Linked DNA regions of Homo sapiens: all the other regions are linked to region 6. Evidence: promoter capture Hi-C in 16 types of primary human blood cells and fetal thymus (Javierre and others, 2016). All regions are on one chromosome and are shown on one strand. The core of a region is centred on a gene start or on the middle of the fragment in contact, and the rest is flanking DNA. Distances in the headings are between cores, read along the strand shown.

Region 1 (3,559 bases), core at 1,035-3,534, 180 kb before region 6:
ACTAAACTCCGTGGTTTACATTAGAGTTTATTCTTTTGTTACAAAGTCTTTTGCTAAGTGCAAAATGCCATGTATCCACCATTATAGTATCATACAGAATAGTTTCAATGCTCAGACCATCTCTTGCACTCTACCTATTATCCATGCATTTTCCTTGAACCGGGGCAACCGCGGATCTTTTTACTATTTCTATAATTTTGCGTTTTCCAGTATTTCGTGTAATTGAAACTATACAGTATGCAGTTTTTAGACTGGCTTCTTTCCCTTAGTAACATGCATTTATGGTTCCTCCGTGTCTTTTCATAGCTTGAGAGATCATTAATTTTATTGCTGAATAATATTCCATTATGAGGACAGAGCACAATGTGTTGATTCACCTTTTGAAGTGTATCTTGGTTACCTCCAGTTTTTGGCAATTATGAATAAAGCTACTATAAACATTCATGTTCAGATGCTTATATGGGCAAATGTTTCAACTCATTTGAGTAACTACCTAGGAGCATAATTGCTGGCTCATATGGCAAGGTTATGTTTAGCTGTGTAAAAAGCTGTCAGACTGTCTTCAGGTGACTATCGCTTGCCCCGTGCATGTCAGCATTTGGTGTTTGTCATTGTTTTAGATTTTAGCCATTTTTACATGTAGTGAAATCTCATTGTTTTAATTTGCAATTCTCTAATAATGAATGATATCAAGCATCTTTTCATATGTTCATTTGCCATCTGTACATTTTCTTTGGTGAGACGTCTCTTCAGATCTTTTGATCATTATTTTTATTCTTTGAGACAGAGTCTTGCTCTGTTGCCTAGGCTGGAGAGCAGTGGTGTAATCATAGCTCACTGTAGCCTCCAATTCCTGGGCTCAAGCGATCCTCCCTACTCAGCCTCCTGAGTATCTGGGACCACAAGCATATGCCACCATGCCCAGCTAATTTTTTATTTTTTTGTAGACCTGGGGTCTCGCTGTGTTGTGCAGGCCAGTCTCAAACTCCTGGCTTCAAGCAATCCTCCCGCCTCAGCCTCCCAAAGTGCTGGGATTACAGGTGTGAGCCACCACACCAGCCTGCATATTTTTTAATTGAATTGTTTTCTTATTGTTCAGTTTTTTTTGTTTTGTTTTGTTTTATTTTATGAGACAGAATCTTGCTCTTTCACCCAGCTTAAAGTACAGTGGCATGATCATGGCTTGCTGCAGCTTGCAACTCCCGGGCTCAAGTGTTCCTCCTGCCTCAGCCTCCTGAGTAGCTAGGACTATAGGCAAGTGTCACCACACACAGCACATTTAAAAAAAAAAATTTTCTCCCTATGTTTCTCAGGCTGATCTGGAACTCCTGGGCTCAAGTGAACCTTCCAACTCAGCCTCCCTAAGTGCTGGTATTGCTGGTTAATACAAGTGCCTCGTTAGATATGTATTCAGCAAATATTCTCTCCCGGTCTGTGCCTTGTCATTCCATTTCCCTAACAATGTCTTTGCAGAGCAGAAGTTTTTAAGTTCAGTGAAGTCCAACATACCCGTTTTTCTTCATAGATCATGGATCATGCTTTGAAAAACTTCCCCAGATTTTCCCCGGGTTCTCTTGTAAAAGTTTTGTAGTTTTGCATGTTAAATTTAGGTCTATAATCCATTTTGAGTTCATTTCTGTGAGAGGTGTAAGATCAGTGTCTGGATTCATGTTTTTTTCCTTTTTTTTTTTTTTTGGCACATGCATGCCTAAATATTCCAGCATCATTTCTTGAAAAGACCATACATTATCTGTTGAATTGCTTTTAATTCCTGTCAAAATATCAGTTAAGTATATTTGTGTGGATCTGTTTGTTCTCTATTCTTCTTCATTGATCTAGCTGTCTATTCCTTTGCCAACACTATACTTTCTTGATTATTGTAGCTTTATAGTAAGCCTTTAGGTAGTATTAGTCTTCCAACTTATTTCTTCTTCAATACTGTGTTGGCTCTCCTGGGTCTTTTGCCTTTTCATATAATGTTTAGAATCAGTTTGTCAGTATTTATAAAATAACCTGCTGGGATTTTGATTGGATTACATTGAATCTGTAGATGAAATTAGGAAGGATTGGCATCTTTAAAAGATTGAGCTTTCCTATCCATGAACATGGAATATCTTTCCATTTACTTAGAACTTTTTTTGATTTCATTAGATTTCCTTATATGGACCTTGTACCCATTTTTTTGATTTATTATTAAGTACTTTTTAAGTGCTAATGTTAGTGTTATTGTATTTTTAATTTTTAAATCCCAATTGTTTATTGCTGGCATATAGTAAAGCAATTGACTTTTGTTTATTAACTTTGTGTCCTGTATTTTAAAACTTATGATCTTTAAAATGGAGAGCAACCCTTCAATGATTAGGAGAGACACAAAATAGAAATAAAGATTTTATTACTTATAGGTTCTGGTAGTATATGACATGCTTGGAGGCCCCCCACACAGAGAGGTTAGTTTAGGGAGTACAGGCAGGGAGAAAGAATGCAGAAATTAGAAGTGTATGTTGGAGAATACACTGTGGGTGGCTTTAAGTTCAAGGGCAAATACCTGAATGGTCCATTTAAAGGAAGCGGTGGGAAAGTGGGGAGCCCAGTCAACTAGGCAGAAGAGGTTCCTCCAAGGTTTTTATCCTTGGCCACTGGCTTGGGCCATTAGGGTGTGGTGTTCTTCTAATACGTAGGCAGAAACCTCTGCTGTGTCAATACCATTGAAATTGACCCTGTAATGTCTAGGCATTAGACCTTGTGCCTTATCATGGGTGCCATTTGAGTAGCAGAGACACTAAAGGCTACTGGAGAAACCTGAGTCAGGCATCTGATGAGCATAATTAAACAAGCAGTCCGAAGGTACCCACTATGACTTGAAATCTCACGTGCAGCCATCCATCCCACTACATAGAGTATGCAGGGCTAGTCGAGTGGGCTGTATGTAGCTGTGCCATGCGGAGGTGGGCACCGGGAGGCAGCTGTGCACAGCAGATATCTGGACTGACCACCTTGAGGAACTGGGAGGAGATGTAGAACCTGAAAACTGTGTCAAGGGTGACTGAGCTCTCCTTCCGGCATAGGAAAGTTAAACTTCCCTGAAAAATGGGTGCTGAGGCAACATAAAATTATGATAATTCACTACATAGTAATCTTGCTGTAATCTGGCTGGTGCAGTGGCTGATGCCTGTAATCCCAGCACTTTGGGAGGCCGAGGCAGGCAGATCACCTGAAGTCAGGAATTCACGACCAGCCTTGCCAACATGGTAAAACCTGGTCCCTGCTAAAATGACAAAAATTAGCTGGGCGTGGTGGATCGTGCCTGTAATCCCAGCTACTCTGGAGGCTGAGGCAGGAGAATCGCTTGAACCCAGGAGGCAGAGGTTGCAGTGAGCCAAGATCAAGCCACTGCACTCCAGCCTGGGCAATAGAGTGAGACTCCATCTCAAAAAAAAAAAAAAAAAAGAAAGAAAAGAAAAGAAAAAATCTTGCTATAATCATCTGCTAGTTCAGGAGTTTTTGGTCAATACTTTGGTATTTTCTACATAGACAATCATGTCATCTGTGAAGAAAGACA
Region 2 (3,751 bases), core at 1,138-3,637, 160 kb before region 6:
TGTGTATCTGTCCACGTGTGTGCGTGCATTCCATCTCTCTACATGCAGTAAAACCCACGCATTCACATTGATACATCTCATTCCAGTCCACCTCAGAGTCACCCTCATCCTCTCCTTTCCCCTTTCCGTATTTCGTATTTCCCTTCACTGACAGCGAAACCCGACTCTCAGCGCACTTAGTGAATTCCCGACTCTCAGCGCCACTTAGTGAATTTTTTTATTTGTGCCACCTCCCTCTGGTACGTAACCGAACTCCCGGGCCTGTGGGGCGAAAGCTCATCCCAGAGGTGTCCCTGCCCCATCCGTTCCCATCCTGGTGCTAAAGGCCCTAGTAGAAATCTCAGTCCCCATGAAGAGGAAAAGAAAAGGAGAGGGAAAGAGGGAAGAAGGAGGAAAGACCAGTTAGAAAGCTTGGCTGCGGACCAGTCTCCCTTCCTCATTCCCCCTTTCAAACAAGACGGGCAAGGAAAGCTCTGCCTGGATTAAGGGGAAGGGGATGAGAGCCATATTTACTTACTCTGAAACAATGGCCTAGGAGATCGTCCAGCAGTTTCATTATAGCTCCTTTCAAATGAATGATTTTGAATATGAGTATTTAAAAAAAGTGTTTTCCCCTTTATTACAGAACTGATACATATACATTATTGAACATTAAAAAATACAAAGAAGACATTTTAAGAATGCAATTACCAAACATTTTCCCATCCAAAGATAATCACTTAGTTTTTTGGTGTATCCTTCTCCCCGCCACCCAACTCTTAGTTTGCAAAATTTCAAACCCACAGCAAAGCCACATTGATAGTACAATGAACATCTGTCGACCAGTCACCTAGAGTCACCAAGTGTTGTCATTTTACTACATTTGACTTGTCTCTTTCTTTCTTTATATTCATATGTTTTATATTTTTCCACTTAGTCACTGGAAATTCAGTGGCAGACACTGTGGTAATTAATATCTAAAAACTTCAGTATGTTTGCTAAGAACAAGAATGTTCTCCTACATAGCCACAGTACAAATGTCTCACTCTGAAAATGAAGCCAGGCACAGCGGCTCATGCCTGTACACCCAGCATTTTGGGAGGCCCAGGTGGGAGGATTGCTTGAGCGCAGGAGTTTGAGACCAGCCTGGGTAACAAAGTGAGACCCCCGTCTCTATAACGCACTTAAAATTGGGCATGGTGTTGTGTGCTGAGGTGGGAGGATCACTTGGACCCAGGAGGTTGAGGCTGCACTCCAGCCTGGCCGACAGAGACAATGTCTTGGGGGTAGGGGGTGAAGAACACTTCTTTCCCCAGTTGTCAAACTAATAATGTCCTTGGTCCCATCATTGATGATGTTAAATTTAATCACTTGGATGATCTGGTAGATGTCTCCATTGTAAAGGTAACCTTTCCCCTTTCAAACTTATAAGTAGTGTATAAGGTTACTGCTTTGAGACTGGAAACAGCCTGTTCTCCAAGACTCTCACCAATAATTAGATTTCACCTCCAAAAGAAACCTTCCTGTTTCTCCTTTTTAAAAAGAAATTTGAGTATCAGCATGAACTCATGGATTATGTTTTTATTCAGTGTGTTATAATCTCTCCTGTCATTATTCATCCTGATGTTCAAATTGTCCCACAATTGGTCAGTGAGGCCCCTTCGGCCTGGCTCCCTACCCTTTTGCCGGGTTGCCGTCACGTTTTGAGCCTTTATTTTACTTCACCACACACAATGCTCCAGGCTCACCTTGAAATTTTTGCCCCGGCTCCAGAAGCAGCTGTTCCTCCAACTTCATTTTAATGGGAAATGGTTTTTAAAACTAGGATCTGAGCCTTACTTAGGTGAACTCGTTGCTTACGAAGTGTTATTGCATCTCGACCTTTTTAGAGCTAGCAAACATATACAAAAAATATAAAACTATACAAATTAACTGATCCCTCTAAGGCAGTCACCAAAGTTTTCTCCCTTCTTTCTTCCATGCTGGCTTCTTGCCCACCGCCCACCGTGAGCACCCCAGCTCTGAGCGACGTGGATATATTTGTACTCCTTCGCTCAGTCCCACAATCCACAAACGAGCTTTGGACTTGTCTCCTTTCCTTGAAGAAAATCGCACTACACATACACATCTACGTAGGCAAAGGTCCCTCTCTTTGTCCCCCTCGCTGACATTTTGGCTGGTGCACCTGCTCCCTTCAGACGGAGCAGGAGAGCAAAGCGCTGGCCTGGGATCCAGGGGGCCCCCCGGGGCCAGTCCCGCGGCCACGAGGGCGCCTCACCACCAGTCCAGGGCGGGGTCCGCGGGCTCATAGGGCTGTAGCCAGGTGTCACTGTCGTTCTCTTCGGGGACGCCCGTCCCTCTAACCGGCAGCGGGCAGATGGTCAGGGGATCCGGATGTTCGCCGCCGTCGTGGGCCCTGGGCCTGAAGTACGCACAGAGCGCGCCCGAGAAGGTGTCGTGGAAGGTGAAGATGTGGGAGCCGTCGGACACGTTGAAGAAGGACAGCTCTCCGGCCTCGTAGTCCAGGAAGACGCCCAGGCGCCGCGGGGGCACGCGCAGGGTGAGCGCGACGCGGTGCGGGGCCAGGACGAAGTACTCGCAGCCGTTCCACAGCCCCAGCACCCAGTAGCCGGCCGCAGGGCTCAGGCGCGCAGGCCCCGCGCGCGGCACCGCGGCCAGGCAGGCGCCCAGGAACCAGCGGCTGCGGCGGCCCACGTGCACCTCCCAGTAGTGGCGGCCGGCGGAGAACCGCTCCAGGCTCAGCGCGCACGTCTGCTCCGAGAACCGCTGCGGGTGGCCAGGCGCCGGGCCTGGCGGCGCCCCGCGGGAAGACACGCTCTTGCCATCCTCCGACACCTCCAGGCTGGGGTGCGCCGAGGCCGGGTCCAGCGTCACATCCACTGCGCAGAGCCACAGCGTTAGTGCCCGCCCGGGACGGTCTGGGCCCCGTCCGTGTCTTCCCCAAGGCGGACAAACCTCTCGTTTCTCTTGGTGGAATAATCGAGGAAATGAACCCCTTACCCCGACCCTCACCCCTGCAAACCCCCTCCCCAGGACTGAAGTGGCATGTGTCAGTCACTCCTGAGTGTTTGATAGTGACAAGGAATCCTGTCCTTTCCTGAACTGGAAGGTCCCTGAATTCCATACCAGAGATAGCAAAGGAAGTAGGCTGGCGGGGAGGGAGCCACGTCCCGGTCAAGGGGAAGGACCTATGGGCTGGTTCTAGTTCCTGCTGGTGGCACCACCCTGCGTGACCTTGGCATAATCAGGAGAGCGCTGAGCGTCATTTTACAGAAATTTTGGATTTTTTTTTTTTTTTTTTACATACAGTCCTTCAGAAAAGTTTTTAAAAGGATTTTAAAAGGACCTTTGAGATCATCTAGTCCAGTGCCCCACATTTCAACACCCCATGCCATCTGACAGATGGGAACCTAGGGGACCCCTTCGTCAGAGAATCTGGGAGGTTCATTACAGACTCTGCACTCTCGCCTGCAAATAGCCTCAAGCCAGATGGAAACAAACCTAGTGTAACCCCAAGGAGCGATGTGTTTGGGAGCTCACGTGTGCATGTGTGTGCATACACATGCAGGCATATGTGTCGTGTGGCGTGTTTGCAAGTGTGCGTGTGTGTCTTGTGTGTGCAGGCCCCATACTTGGCTCCTATAAAGCCCCGTCCTCTAATCTCAGATCTCTCCACCTCCCTTCTGTTTAAGATCCGGCCAAACCAAAACACAAATCAGTTTCCTGGCTTCAGTTACCTGCATATTTTTGG
Region 3 (3,263 bases), core at 627-3,126, 150 kb after region 6:
TGAATTATACCTCAATAAATCTCTTAAAATAAATATATGCTAATTACAACAAATGAAACCCTGTTGTTGTATGAAGAAAAAGTTATCAGTCTTCCCACCTCCTTCCCATATTCAACACCCCTCAACCAATAAGCAGCATTACCATAATCAGTTTGAGGTGAACCTTTCCATCCTTTTCTTTATGCTTGTATAACCACACATATGCACCTATGTTTGTGTTCCAGTAACACTAACTAGCATTGAGTGAATGTCTACCATATGCCAAGCACTTTATATACACTGTGTCATTAATCTGCAAAAGAGAACCACAGGATAAGCCATAATAATATCATCTTACTGAAGGGAAACTAAGGTGCAAGCATATCAAGAAAGCTCTTCAAGGTCACAAAGCTAGTAATGGCACAGCTATTTCTTCTATATTATATTATGACCCCTTAAGTGGATACAAATCATCTTAAATGTTTCTTGTTTTATTTCCTGTGGTATGTAGAACAGCACTCATTGCTCAGTAGATAATTTTTGAATGAATTGATAAATAAATGCATTTTCCTTTTAAATTTATTGTGAATAAAAAACAGAGTATAAAGAAATAAATGTTAATACATGAAGTATACTATGTTTGAAAGCAATGTAAAGCATCAAACTTGTCTTCAAGGAAATTAATACTGAATTGAGTCAATGAGACACATAATGGGGATATATGGGCATTATATGAGGAGCTCAGGGAAGGGAGAGATTTGAGGTGGTGAATATGGTAAGCTCCAAGAGAGATGAGTCATTTAGTCTGAGTGGTGAAGGACTGGTAGGATTTGGGTGAAAGCAGAAGTGTGCAGAATCCCAGGATGCAGAGTCATATGCACCAAGGGAAGAGTTGGGTTCTGAGGACACTGAATAGATTCATTTGATTTAGGCAGAGCATGGGGAATAGAGAGAATTGAGGACTCAAGGCAAATCTTGGTTTTTCAGTCAGTTGATTTTGATTGCCACATTGGGGCCCGGAGGTCTCCAAGGTCATACTTGGTAAACAATTTTCCCCTGACTCCTCTTAAGGAGGCCTTGGCAATGCTCCTGAGGCAGGATTGCTGCTGAGCCTAAGGGTCAGGAGGTGGTTTGGTAAGACACCAGTTCCTCCACGGCTGAGTTGGTTAGGGTGAGTGAGCGAAGGTGCCTGGGGGAGGAGGCTCCTGCCTGGCGGGCAATGGGCCTTGGGCAGTTTTGCCCTGCCCAGGGAGGGAGCCTATGTAACCATCGCTTCTCCAGGACAGGAGCCCTGGGTAAGTACTGACTGGATGGGCCACTCTGACTTCATAGTTAAAAATCCAGAACCTCCTCCTTCACTCAGACAGAGGATGAAATTTTCTGGCTTGAATGTGGCTCTATTATAGTCAGACAATATCATTAAATTAGTAGACTGGCATGAAGAATATGAAGAATATAGTACTACATGCTGTTGAAAATAATTTAAACATGATTTCTGATTTCAATAAGTGTGTTATTTTTAGAAGTCATGCATAGAAATATTTCATTGGGCAATTAGTGGGGGATTCCTTTGTGTAGCATCCCCAGTTTGAGTACATAGAGCTATTAAATTCATGCAAGAACATATTTTATCACTGATAGAGTCTTTCTCTGCCACTTACTCACCCATCCATTCACTCAACTGAATACAGCATGTCAAACAATTTCTTTTTTTTCTCTCCAACTGCATAAACTTAGGGAAATAAGTTTATTTATGTAAAGTGTGAAGCTTAAAATCATTTTGAAGTTTCTTCTAAATCTCAAATTCCATGATGCCAGGGCTCTAGTATGCAAAGTAAATTATAGGCCTCAGTGCCAAGAGACAAAGAATAGAGCAATGGTCAGAGCTGTTGAAGATAAATCCCGGAAGACTTCTTGAAGAACTAGATGACAGAAGGGAATCTATCCTATTTGGAGACAATGTTCTGTGTGGGAATCAGAGTTAAAACAAGCTACTTGTTAATTCAGTCTTTGTTAATTAAGCTTACTGAACTCAAACCGGAGTTTTCTGGTCTTATACTGCGAAATGTGGGTTATTATTAAGTATTTTATAGAAGCGTCTTAAAGATCACCCTAAAGTCTCATGGGGTATGATGAGATATTGTGTGATTCCTCAGGTGAGAGGAACAGGGTCAGGTGTGTCTGCAGAAGAGGAGGATGTGATGGAGGATGAGTGGAAGGAAGGATGTTTTGGTGCCTAGTAAGTTTTGATAGTGGGTTTAATCTTCCAAAAACTAATAAGAGAGCTACTCATGCAGGTGTAATAAAAGGGTGAAATAAGATTCAAATTTAAGGATGAATGTTCTACCAATGAAGGTGTTTCGGAAGGAGTTTGTAGAACCTCCTCCTTCACTCAGACAGAGGATGAAATTTTCTGGCTTGAATGTGGCTCTATTACAGTCAGAAAATATCATTAAATTAGTAGACTGGCATGAAGAATATGAAGAATATAGTACTACGTGCTGTTGAAAATAATTTAAACATGATTTCTGATTTCAATAAGTGTGTTATTTTTAGAGGTCATGCATAGACACACAGATGTACACACAGACACAGACACGCAGAGATGAGCACGGACCAGGCATAGTGGTTCATGCCTATAATCCCATTGCTTTGGGAGGCTGAGGCAGCAGGATTGCTTGACCCCAGGAGTTCAAGACCAGTTTGGGCAACATAGGGAGACCCAGTCTCTACAAAAAATACAAAAAATTACCCAGGCCTGGTGGTGTATGCCTGTAGACCCAGCTTACTCAGGAGGCTTGGTGGGGAGGATCACTAGTGCCACTGCAGTCCAGCCTGGATGATGGAGTGAGACCCCCGTCTCAAAAAAAAATGCAAAAAAACAAAACCCAGAGAGATGAGCACAACCATTGGTCTTTGTAATGCAGAAATTTAACAATATCAAATATGCACATGAAATGCAGGAATGCTTTATGTGTGCCAAAGGGATAAGAATAGGGGTTAAATTTTAAAAAGATAAGTTAAGATTAGAAAACTATCAGGGTTGGATGCAGTGCTCAAAACCACCTAACAAATGTTTCAGTTAATGCAGGAACATTTTCACATCATCCTGAAAAGTCAACTTTCACCCTCTGAATGAGCAGGAAGCTTTCGAGTGATGGGAATATCACATTTCCAGGCAGCCTAGTTTTAGACTGCTTCATTTTATTCACTTTTTTTTTTTTTAATATTGAGCCACAATCTGTTCTCTTGTAAGTTTCGCCTGTTGGTCCTAGTTTTGACCT
Region 4 (3,511 bases), core at 99-2,598, 230 kb before region 6:
AAATTTGAATGTCCTAGACAATAATTTTTTTTTTTGAGACAGGGTCTGGCTCTGTTGCCCAGGCTGAAGTGCAGGGGTGTGATCTCAGCTCACTGCAGCCCTGACCTCATGGGCTTAAATGATCCTCCCACCTCAGCCTCCAGAGTAGCTGGGACCACAGACACGCACCACCGTGCCAGATTAAACATTTTTAAATTAAGATACTCATGTAAAAGACAGTGCTTCTATTTATGCAGGGCAGTTCTCCAAATAAATCAGTTCAGACATCCTAGTAACTTATTTGAGAAAAACGGACATTTCAAAGAGTATCCCCACCTCCCTTAAAATCTGAAAGGACACATAATATGATTGCTGTTAGCAGACTCTTCTCCCTTCTCTACTGTGGGACTCCAAGCCCCAAGTTAGTCTTGATTTAGGCTGTGTCAAGGGGACCAACACTGAATTGAATGTGAGATTCAAATTTTGATTTTCAATGGACTGGATTTTAGAATATATAAATGAGCCTTCGTCTTACCACCCAAAGTCACCAGAAAACTCTTGATCTGCATGAGATGTCATGAAGATGTGGAGAATGAATTGTGATGTCTTATTTAAAAGCAGTGGCTGTACAAAAATAAAAGTGTTTCCTTGTTTGCACATGATCAAAAGTTCCCCCTGAATAATACGATAAAAGGCAATACAAGAGCTGTCAGCAGGCCATGGACATACGCTGCCAGAGTGTAGACAGGAAGCCATGGCCGGCGGAGGTCATGGTGGATTGAGTTCCGGAGGAATCTGAATGGAGGTGGGCTTGAGCTCGGTCTTGGGGAATTAGATAAGGCTGAAGAGTAACAGAGGAAGAAGACAGAGGAAGTGCCGGTGGGGAGAAGTGGCTGGAGAAAAAGTGTGAGTGTGGAAAGCGTTGGGTGCATAGGAGGATAGAGGAGAAGGCCGGTGTGGGAGAGGAGTGGGAGACGCTGCAGGTCCAGTCCTCAAAAGCCAGCCTGCCCCACTCCAGCTGCGAGGTGGCCATTCCCTTCCTCCCTAGTCTACCTCTCTCTGCCCCGGTCTTCCTGTGTCTCCCTCATGGCCTCCTCGCCTGCATGTTCCTCAGACTCCTGCCATAGCTGGAAGCTGGATCAGGAAGAGGGCACACACCAAAAGTGTGGTAGCAAAGACACACAAGGAAGTCGAGATTCAGAAGGAACAAACGCCTCTGGTGTCTGAGCCATGTGGCAAGGGGATTTCAAGCACATTGGCCCCTGAGAAAATGGCCTGCTTCCATGGGACATAAATAGCCACAGAGTGACCATAAAATGCATCCTCCGATGTGAAATGCTCTTGAGAGTAAAAGGCAGTGGCAGCATCAGAACCGTGGACTTCAGCCCCATCCCCAGCAGCCCACGAAGACACTGACCCTGCAGAAACGCCTGTCAGGTTTATGAGGATCCCAACCAGGCCCCCAGGCTCCACCCGACTCTCGTGAAGGTGGGGCTGTTCTTTCCCTCCCACGAGGCTGTAGACCCCTTGAGCAAGGACTGTGTCCAGAGCCCCCCACCCAGTGCTTTGCATGTCACGGGTGATGTAGGCTGACTTAATGGGGGCAGGTGAAGGACAGGTGTGGGGTGCAGCGAGGGCCCAAGGGACAGCTGTGACATGGAGACCCCATGAGGGCCCTGGAGGTCGCTGGGAAGTGCTGATGTGTGTGTGGGGGGGCAATGTAGGGCACCAAGAATGTCCTCCGCATTCCTGTATTCCTCTGCCCTGCGTTCCTCCTCCCCCAGCTGGGTTTCCTCACGCTGTCCCCACTGGCCCTGCTCCTGTTCCTGTCCCCAGGTCCCTCTGTGGGTCTTTTTAATTGTAATCTTGGGAGCACCTCTTCCAGGGCTGGAGTCTGTGGGGTCCCCTGGGAGCTGAGGTCTGAAGTCAGCTTCCCCTCTTCACCCCGTGTCTGGGTTCAGTACCTGTGTGGGCAGTGGGAGGCGGTTCTGCCACCTGGCCAGAGCCAGGGTGTCCTGGAGGCAGGTGGGAATCCTGGGTGGGCTCAGGGCACTGCTCCTGGCTCCACCTCTCCTGCCAGCACCAGCTCCTTCCCTGAGCCTGTTTCTCCCTCTGAGAGGAGGCTGTGGTCTGTGTGAGCCTTGCTCTCTGAGCCTGAGGGGCCACTGGAGGCTGAGGGTGCCGTGGGCTCCACAACCCGATGAGTAGTCGGTGCGGGCTGAGGAAGGAGGTTGGGGCTGCGGCTCCTCCTGTCCCCCGACCCAGTGGGAGCAAACACAGGAGGATGAGTGCATGGCTCTGACGCTAGGAACTCCTCCACAGGTGACTCTGCTGAGTTTGTTCCCCTGCAGGGACCCACCCACAGGTGAGTGAGGGTCTTGTCCTGTCGTCCCCTCTCTCTTCCCTGCAGCTCCTGCTCCCATTGCTGGTTCACGTCCCCATTTATCTTGTTCATCAGCACTTGCTCTTCCTCCTGCTGTCTGCCTCCATCAGGGTGTAACTGTTTCGTGTGGGTGTTTGGAGGGGCATCCGTCTTCTGGTGTGATGTTTCTCCTCACTCTTTCTTCTCGTTCTCTTCCTTTGACCCACCTCTCTCTCTTTCCTTGGTGTCCTACTCCCCTTTTCCCGTCCCCCTCCCTCTGTCTGGGTTGGAGACTGGGCTCTAGGTCCCTGGGGTGGAGGATGGTCCACAGCAGGAAGACAAGGACAGATGTGTGGGGAGTGCGAAGGTGAAGGAGCAGGAAGGAGGGGGCTGATGTGGGACGGGGTCCTCCCGTGCCGGGGAGAATATTGCAGAGATGCAGTGGCTTCTTCTATGTTGTGGTTTCTAGGAAGAAAAGTGAAGCCATTAACTAAACACCCAACGGAAAGGTCTGAAATTAGAGAGCAGGAAGATAAGCCAGTGAGAGGCAAGAATAAATTCTGTTGTGTTTCATAATACAATTTTTTTTTTCTGAGACAGGATCTTGCCGTCTGTGTCCTGAGAGGCACAAGTGGCTGGTGCCTCTGAACATGGTGGTAAGGCTGGGAGACCGTTCTTCTGCTGGGGCATCTGGTGTATTTTGCTGGTTGATATGGCTGAGAGGGTGCTTGGTCGCTGTGGGAACAGATTTGCTCCTGTAGAAACCCCCTCCAAATCACACAATGTCATAGCTCTATCATTCAGGCTGGAGTGCAGTGGTGTGATCGTAGCTCACTGCAGCCTCAAATTCCTAGGCTCAAGTGATCTGCCTCAGTCTTCCAAGTAACTGGAACTACAGGTGCACACCACCACGCCCAGGTAATGTTTTATTTTATTTTTATTTTGGAGACAAAGCTCGCTCTGTCACCCAGGCTGGAGTGCAGTGGCGTGAACATAGATCACTGCCAGCTTGAACTTTCAGGCTCAAACGATCCTTCCACCTCAGCCACCTGAGTAGCTGGGACTACAGATGTGTGCCACAATAGCCTGGCTAATTTTCTCTGTTTTTTGAATAGAGATGAGGTCTCGTTTATGTTGCCCAGGCTGGTCTCAAACTCCTACCTCGAGCTA
Region 5 (3,702 bases), core at 613-3,112, 210 kb before region 6:
CCATATCAGTATATTCACACGATGCAATTTTTTTTTTTTTTTTTTTTTTTTTTTTTGAGAGAAGGCTTCACTCTGTTGCCCAGGCTGGAATTCAGTGGTGGACTCACAGCTCACCGCAACCTTAAACTCCTGGGCTCAATGTTCCTCCCACCTCAGCCTCCCAAGTAGCTGGGACCACAAGTGGGAGCCACCATACATGGCAATTTTTAAAATGTTTTCATAGACGCAGTGTTCCCCACCCCCCGACCCGCCACCCAGCAGGCTGAGTGAAACGAGCCTCTCCAGTACCCACCCATGAAGGGGGTCAAAATCAAGGGAACAATCCCGTCTCATCAGCAGGTCTGAGTTTTTTTCCCAGTTCCAAATTAAATCAGCCCCCTTTGCGGGTGAGACTACTGGTTTTCAAGGCCGGCCCAGCCTAGGATATCAGGGCAGGGTGCCAGAATGACAGCAGCTCCAGGCAAGAAGGCTGCAAAGTCCTGCTGTTCTAACTAGAAGTTCTGGCAGCTTTTTATTATGAGTATATGTTTCTCCATTTGATGATTTGCCTTTGGTCAATTTTGAGAGCTCTGAAATGATCGCTCTTGACAATTTTGTCCCATTTTATACTTTTGGGTGTGGGAACAGATTTGCCAGCTTCTGCCCTCTGCCATGCCTAGAGGCCCACACTTCACTATTTTTGAGTGTATAACGTGGATAGACCATGTGCTGTGTACCCACACCCCTAGTGATCACATTTGAATTGTTTCCTTCCAGGTTTCCTATACTATGGTGATGTAAGGAACAACCATACATGTCTTGGAGCATATATATAGATGTTTCTGCCATGAAAGCATAATCTTTGAAACATTAACAACACATATACATACTGTGTATCTCATCAATATGTCATGTACTTATACAGCAAACACACGCAAAGGCGTATAGCTCATTGATGAGGGAATTGTCAGGATGGCGAGTCTGAGTCACGGGGAGTTAGAGAAGTGGGGTTATGCACTCAGGGAGGAAGAAGGATGGATACAAATGCTAAGTTTGATACAAAACAGGTTAATAAATTCCAAGGCAATAAACCTGTAGCTGCTGGGCTATCTTTTATACACAACAAGAATCATTTAGATCTCAACCCCACAGGGCTACACCTTATCATCCAATGTCTCAGTGAATTTTAACAAGTAGTAAACAGCAAGTCACAGAAAGCTACCTTCCCCTGGGGCTGAGGTTCTGCACGCAGCAGCAGCATCTCCTGGGAACTTGTTAGAAATGGAAATTCCTGGACCCCAGCCCAGACCTAGCAAACAGACTCTGAGGGGGAGCCCAGAGATAGGCGTTTTTATTTATGTTTTATTTTTTTGAGACAGGTTCTCCTCTGTGGCTCAGGCTGGAGTGCAGTGTCACAATCATAGCTCACTGCCGCTGTGGCTAAGTTTTTCTTTTATTTTTTGTGGAGACTAGGTTTTCCTCTTGTTTCCCGGGTGAGTCTTGAAATCCTGGCCTCAAGGGATCCTCTGGCCTGGACCTCCCAAAATGCTGGGATTTTAGGCGTGAGCCACCGCGCCTGGCCTGAGATTTTAAGTATCTTAACACACTCTCAGCCAGGTGTGTGGCTCATGCCTGTAATCCCAGCACTTTGGGAGGCTGAGGCAAGTGGATCACTTGAGCCCAGGAGTTCAAGACCCACCTGGGCAACATGGGGAGACCCCGGTCTCTATGAAAAATACAAAAATTAGCCAGGTGTGGTGGCAAGCAGCTGTGGTCTCAGCTACTGGGGAGGCTGAGGCAGGAGAATTGTTTGAGCCTAGGAGGTCAAGGCTGTAGTGAGCTGAGATGGCAACACTGCACTCCAGCCTGAGGAGAGCCCCCTGCAGTAGGGAGGGGGCTGTTGCAGTAGGAGGTCCATCCTTTGACAGCAAGAACCCCTGTCCCAGGCTACAGAAAGGGCTTCACATTTGCAGGGAGGCGTCAGCAAGGCTAGAAAGACCGCGGCAGGTGGGGCGGGATGAGCAGTGACAGATGGGACAGTGCACCGGGGAGTGTTCTCCTGAAACTGAGATTCTGAGGAGGGGCTGTTAGAGGGGTTCCCATGCTGCTCAAGGTGGGCCAAGGTCACAGCCTGTGGGGAACCAGGAAGCCTGACTAAAGTATGGACAAGTCAACAGGCATTTTATCCAGATTGGTCAGTGCGGACAAACAGTTCAGCTAGTCACTCATGAGTTGAAGATCGGGAATTTGGAGGGTCTGGATCTGGCCTCATCGTTGGTCAACAGGGGTTCACCATCCTGCCTTATCCATGTGGCAGGGGAAAGGCCTACAGGAGGGTGGGGCATTTCTTCTATTTTCTTTTTAATAATTTCAACTTTTATTTCGGATTCAAGGGGTATATCTGCAGGTTTGTTACCTGGGTATATTGTGTGGTGCTGAGGTTTGGGGTATGAACGATCCCCTCACCCAGGTGCTGAGCATAGCACCCTATAGCTTTGCAACCCTACCCTCTCCCTTCCTCCCTCCCCGCTAGGAGTCCCCAGCATCCCTTGTTGCCATCTTTACGTCCATGACTACCCAGTGTTTAGCTCCCACTTACAGGTGAGAACATGCAGTATTTGATTTTCTGTTCCTTCCTTAACTCACTTAGAATGACGGCTTCCACTGCATCCACGTTGCTGCAAAGGACATGATTTCGTTCTTTTTGATGGTTGTGTCATATCCCATGGTGTCTATGTACCACACTTTCTTTATGCAATCCACCGTGGACGGGCACCGTGGCTTCGCTATTGTGAACAGCACTGCGATGAAAATACAAGCGCCAGGTGTCTTTTTGGTGAAACAATTATTTCTTTTGGATGTAAACCCAGTAATGAGATTGCTGGGTCAAAGGGTAGTTCTAAGTTCCTCGAAAAATTTTCAAACTGCTTGAGAGGGTGGAGGATTTCTTAATAGTCGCCGTTTCCCAGGAGCTCAAGGCTCAGGTGGAAGTTTACTATTGTCAGCATCACACCTTGTTTGTCCATTCTCCACTGATGGACACTGGGGAAGTTTCCAGTTTGGATGTCTATGCAATAGAACAGTGCTGCTGGGAAGGTTCTTGCACGGGTCTTTGGTGACCATAGTGGGGTGGATGCTGCGATGCCCCATGCAGATCCCTCCACCCAGACCAGACGCACCCCTCGATTGGGAGCACAGCCTGCACTGAACCCCTCTGTAGGCATTGCCCTGGGGGAAGGGAAATGCCTCACCCAGGGCCACGCCTCCTCCCTGGAAGCAGCCAGGACCCAAAGACTGATTGGAACAGGGGCACAAAGGCCAGGCCCTCCCACCTCAGCCTCACCTCCACTGGACGTTCCTGCAGGCCCCTCCCAGCAGCCCTGGGGTGGGCTGAGGCCTCAGTGGTAACTGTCTTGCCGCTCAGCTCCTCCCTCTGCCCAGTCACGCCTCCCTCCCTCCCTTGAAGATGCTGATCCCAACAGCACTCCCCCAAAACCTTCCTGCACATGAAGCTCTGCTTCAAGGCCGGGCACGATGGCCCTTGAATCCCACAACTTTGAGGGGCCAAGGCAGGTGAATCGCTTGAGCCCAGGAGTTCAAGACCAGCCTGCACAACGTGACAAAACCCCTTACTTACAAAACAACAACAGGAAAAAAAACACAGAAAAAAAATTAGCATGGCCTGGTGGTGTGTGCCTATAGTCTCAGCTACTCGGAGGGCTG
Region 6 (3,329 bases), core at 738-3,237:
ATTAAATGAGGCATGACTTTGCAGCCTGGTGTCTGACCAGCTTCTGACCTGGTGTAGCAGATGTTGAGGCCCTGCTCCTCACCACCCAACCCTGAGTCCCCCTGCAGTGGGATGGGCATTTCCCTGCCTGCTGACAGCTCCGTCCCTGGAGCCTGGCCTCTGCCTCTCTGCTGAGGGCTTCCTGCCACCCTTGGAACCTACTTAGCCCTGGCACAAGGCAGCTCAGAAGGTTTGCGATTTTAGCAGTCCTGGGCGGCACATCTCACCCAGTGGGGAAAGGAGACAGTAGATGTTGGAATGACTCTGAGCCACCATCTATAAAGTTCCTCCAAAGGTCCCAGTGGGACTGGGTCCCAGTTGCCACCGCAGCAACGCTCATTAGCGCACCCTCTATGGCTTTCCCCCTACTGGCTTCACTCTCTCCACTCCCTCACTTTGTTTCCCAGAATCACCTGCTCAACGAATCACTGGCAGGAAGGCCCTTGTCTTAGGTCAGGTTTGGGGACCCAGCGTATGCCAGCTGGGCTGCTATGGATGCTGCCTTCAGGGCTGTGTGGGGCTCTTGAGGCAAGGAAACATTTTTCAGGGTACCTCCATTTCTCCGGCCAGCCCTTGCTGCTGTCACCTCTCTTGCCTATAACATCTCCTTTCACTCCTTCCACTTCCTTCCCTTGAAAATAAGAAAGGAACAAGACTGTTGCTGCAACATGCCATGCACCCGTGCAGCTGTGTGCACTCTACATGCACAAGCTCATGCAGTCCTCACCACAGCCCCAGCAGGAATGTGATCGTATCTCCATGTCATCATAAGCAAACCAACACCTAAGGAAGCTGTGAACAATAAAGCTCACAAGAAAATGAAATAAGAGTTTTTAAAAATAAAATGTTTCTGTCTCCAAGATCATTTCCAGGATGTCCTGCTGCCTCACCCGGAAACAGAAGGGAAACAAAGAAGCTCGTCAGAAAATAAATGAAAACAAACTGAAACGAGAGCGTCTCCTGTTAGTAACACATATGGGTTTTTGTTTTAAGGAAACATGCTCTATGTTTTGATTGCCCTTATTTCTGTTTTCTTAGCTTCATTTAGCAAAAAAGATATAGGTGGACAGGTGGCAGGATGAACCTTCACAGACAGAAAGTGAACACAGTCAATCGAATCTTCTGTGGCTGGGTACTGACCATCTAGCCACCAGCATTCTACCCCAACCTCAAGCTTCCTCTGTGAATTGTATTCAGTCACTCAACATCCTATATACTAGGTTCTGTGTTAACAGTAACTGGAAGGAGAAAGAAGAGTGGATTTCTTCCCAGAATATGCCAGGTTTCAGCTAATTTCTCACCTCAAGACCTGTACACCTTCCTCCACCCTCGTGTCTCATACCACAGACATTTCTAACTCAGCATGTCTTTAGCTGGATACATTGTCTTTTCCCCAAAAATCCTAACTGTGTCTCTTCCCAGATGGACATCCATGTCAGCAACCTTGGTGCTCCAATAACCCTGCCTACACCACTCAGCCCATCTGGGAGAAACACTGAATTTATTCACCTTAACACGTTAGGTGTGTCCCCGTCAACGATCACGGTGCGTCTTCAACACCCGTGTTTCCATTATTTGGGGGCTACTATAATTGTTTCCACAGCGCCTGATCCTTCCCCAGGCTGAGGCTAGGAGAAGCCAAAGGAATGGAAACGACAAAGATGCCTTCATTCCATTATGCTGCAACCATTGTAGCTAAAGAACTCAAACTGTTAGTTAGTAAGGAGGAAACAAAGATGAGTCTTACCTGATCCCAGCTTGAGGAGACTCAGAACCAAACTGAGCATGAGAGCCATGGATGTGTTCTGTGAATGGACCTCACGGCATGGAAACGGATGACAGGAGAGGTGACGGATGGATTAGAGAGAAGAGGAGAACTGGCCTAATGCTCAAGGTGCGGAAGCCACGGAGAGGCTCTGCGTGAGCGGAGGGCAAACTGCGCTGTTCTGAGAGTCTACTCCATCGAGACACAGCTGTCATGTACCAGAAGTGTAGGGACTCTAGACTTTGAACCACTGCATAAATGTCTATATCTTATCAAGGAAGCAAAGATAGAAATAGTGTGGATAAGATTGGAGGTGAACTTTGTCCTGGGCAAAACGATGCCCTGTGTGGGTGAAACAGGAATGTCAGATGCGGAAATACTTTTCACGTCCAATCTGGCAGGCAGGGCTGTATGGCCATGGGATCTAGTCCTGAAAAACCTCATGTTAGCACTGGATAGTTTGGTGTCCAAGTAAATAGGCCATGCTCCATTAGTAGTAGCCTACAGCAGGTGACTTGACATTTCCTGGCACAGTCTGAGGTCCTTTTGCTTACCCCTCCATTCTCTGAAGTTCAGGGCCAGGACTGTAATCATGAGGCCAGATAAAAATAACTTTCCAGAACAAAACAGATCCTTAGTGTTAAACATCTGATACATTGGGAAAGGTGCCTGGGCAGGTTCAGACATGAGGAAACTTATTTATTATATAAACTAAGTTCCAGGGCAGCCACAATGAGAGATTTGCAGTCTTTTTAAGCACACGGAAACTCACAAAGTCACCACTTAACTAGATCAGAATGAAAATTTCCACAGATAACCATCAAAATAAACATACTCTAATCATAATGCAATTAAAATTAAAAAGTAATTCAAAAACATAGGAAACTCTATACACTAAGAAATTCTTATGTAACAATTTAAAACAACTCACGAGACTAAATCACAATAAAAGTTAGCATCTAGAATAGGACAAAATGAAAACACTGCATTTAGTCTAAAATCTAGAACACTGACAACACCAAATGCTGGTGAGGATGCGGAGCAACAGGAATTCTCACTGATTGCTGACAGGAATGCAAGACGGTACGGTTGTTCTAGAAGACAGTTCAGCAATTTCCTGCAAAATTAAACATACTTTTATCACCTAATCCAGCAACTGCACTGCTTTTTATTCACCTAAATGACTTGAAAACATATGTCCACATGAAAAATTGCACATGAATGTTTATAGCAGCTTTATTCATAATTGCCAAAAATGTTTGCAACCAGATATCATTCAATAATGATACATAGAATGTATACACAAACTATGGTACATCTATACAATGGAATATTACTCTGTGATAAAAAAAAAAAGGAAATGAGTTGTTGAATGTTGTAAGCAAGAGAGTAGAATAGAAAATTATTGATCTCATGCTGTCTCAGAAATACAGATTTACCAAGGATATATAGACCAAAATACCTTTTTATGAAGCTGCTGAGAAGGCACAGTATCCTCTCCATTCCAGTGGCAGCTATGCCCCAC

What was found. Contacts are between HindIII fragments. The CHiCAGO score rates a contact against its expected background, and 5 or more counts as called.
Region 1: a fragment that was not itself captured here is called in contact with the fragment with the promoter of BTNL8 in region 6 in 4 of 17 cell types (naive B cells, total B cells, endothelial precursors and 1 more); the score reaches 6.4 in naive B cells.
Region 2: a fragment that was not itself captured here is called in contact with the fragment with the promoter of BTNL8 in region 6 in 7 of 17 cell types (naive B cells, total B cells, erythroblasts and 4 more); the score reaches 10.2 in naive B cells.
Region 3: a fragment that was not itself captured here is called in contact with the fragment with the promoter of BTNL8 in region 6 in 2 of 17 cell types (naive B cells and erythroblasts); the score reaches 5.3 in naive B cells.
Region 4: a contact is called between the fragment with the promoter of OR2V1 here and the fragment with the promoter of BTNL8 in region 6, in 10 of 17 cell types (naive B cells, M2 macrophages, total B cells and 7 more). The highest score is 7.0, in naive B cells.
Region 5: a contact is called between a fragment that was not itself captured here and the fragment with the promoter of BTNL8 in region 6, in 4 of 17 cell types (total B cells, M1 macrophages, naive B cells and 1 more). The highest score is 6.0, in total B cells.

The regions. Positions count from the first base shown.
Region 1 is chr5:181,080,739-181,084,297 of GRCh38, reverse strand. No RefSeq gene overlaps it. Among named protein-coding and RNA genes, the nearest start is that of TRV-CAC1-2, 15 kb to the left of the region's middle. The HindIII fragment of the contact is 5,034 bases long and covers 1-3,559 here.
Region 2 is chr5:181,058,365-181,062,115 of GRCh38, reverse strand. BTNL9 (butyrophilin like 9) reads right to left here. Exons shown (of 11, transcript NM_152547.5): 10 at 3,738-3,751; 11 at 595-2,879. The coding sequence ends at 2,254. Among named protein-coding and RNA genes, the nearest start is that of MIR8089, 17 kb to the right of the region's middle. The HindIII fragment of the contact is 3,949 bases long and covers 413-3,751 here.
Region 3 is chr5:180,746,757-180,750,019 of GRCh38, reverse strand. No RefSeq gene overlaps it. Among named protein-coding and RNA genes, the nearest start is that of OR2Y1, 8.3 kb to the right of the region's middle. The HindIII fragment of the contact is 254 bases long and covers 1,750-2,003 here.
Region 4 is chr5:181,129,006-181,132,516 of GRCh38, reverse strand. It overlaps OR2V1 (olfactory receptor family 2 subfamily V member 1), which reads left to right and starts at 1,348. Exons shown (of 4, transcript NM_001258283.2): 1 at 1,348-1,467; 2 at 2,302-2,344; 3 at 2,942-2,997. RefSeq lists an enhancer at 2,061-2,562. The HindIII fragment of the contact is 15,941 bases long and covers 1-3,511 here.
Region 5 is chr5:181,109,424-181,113,125 of GRCh38, reverse strand. No RefSeq gene overlaps it. Among named protein-coding and RNA genes, the nearest start is that of TRV-CAC1-3, 9.0 kb to the right of the region's middle. The HindIII fragment of the contact is 7,483 bases long and covers 1-3,702 here.
Region 6 is chr5:180,897,817-180,901,145 of GRCh38, reverse strand. It overlaps BTNL8 (butyrophilin like 8), which reads right to left and starts at 1,987. Exons shown (of 8, transcript NM_001040462.3): 1 at 1,787-1,987. The coding sequence starts at 1,835. The HindIII fragment of the contact is 2,662 bases long and covers 1,216-3,329 here.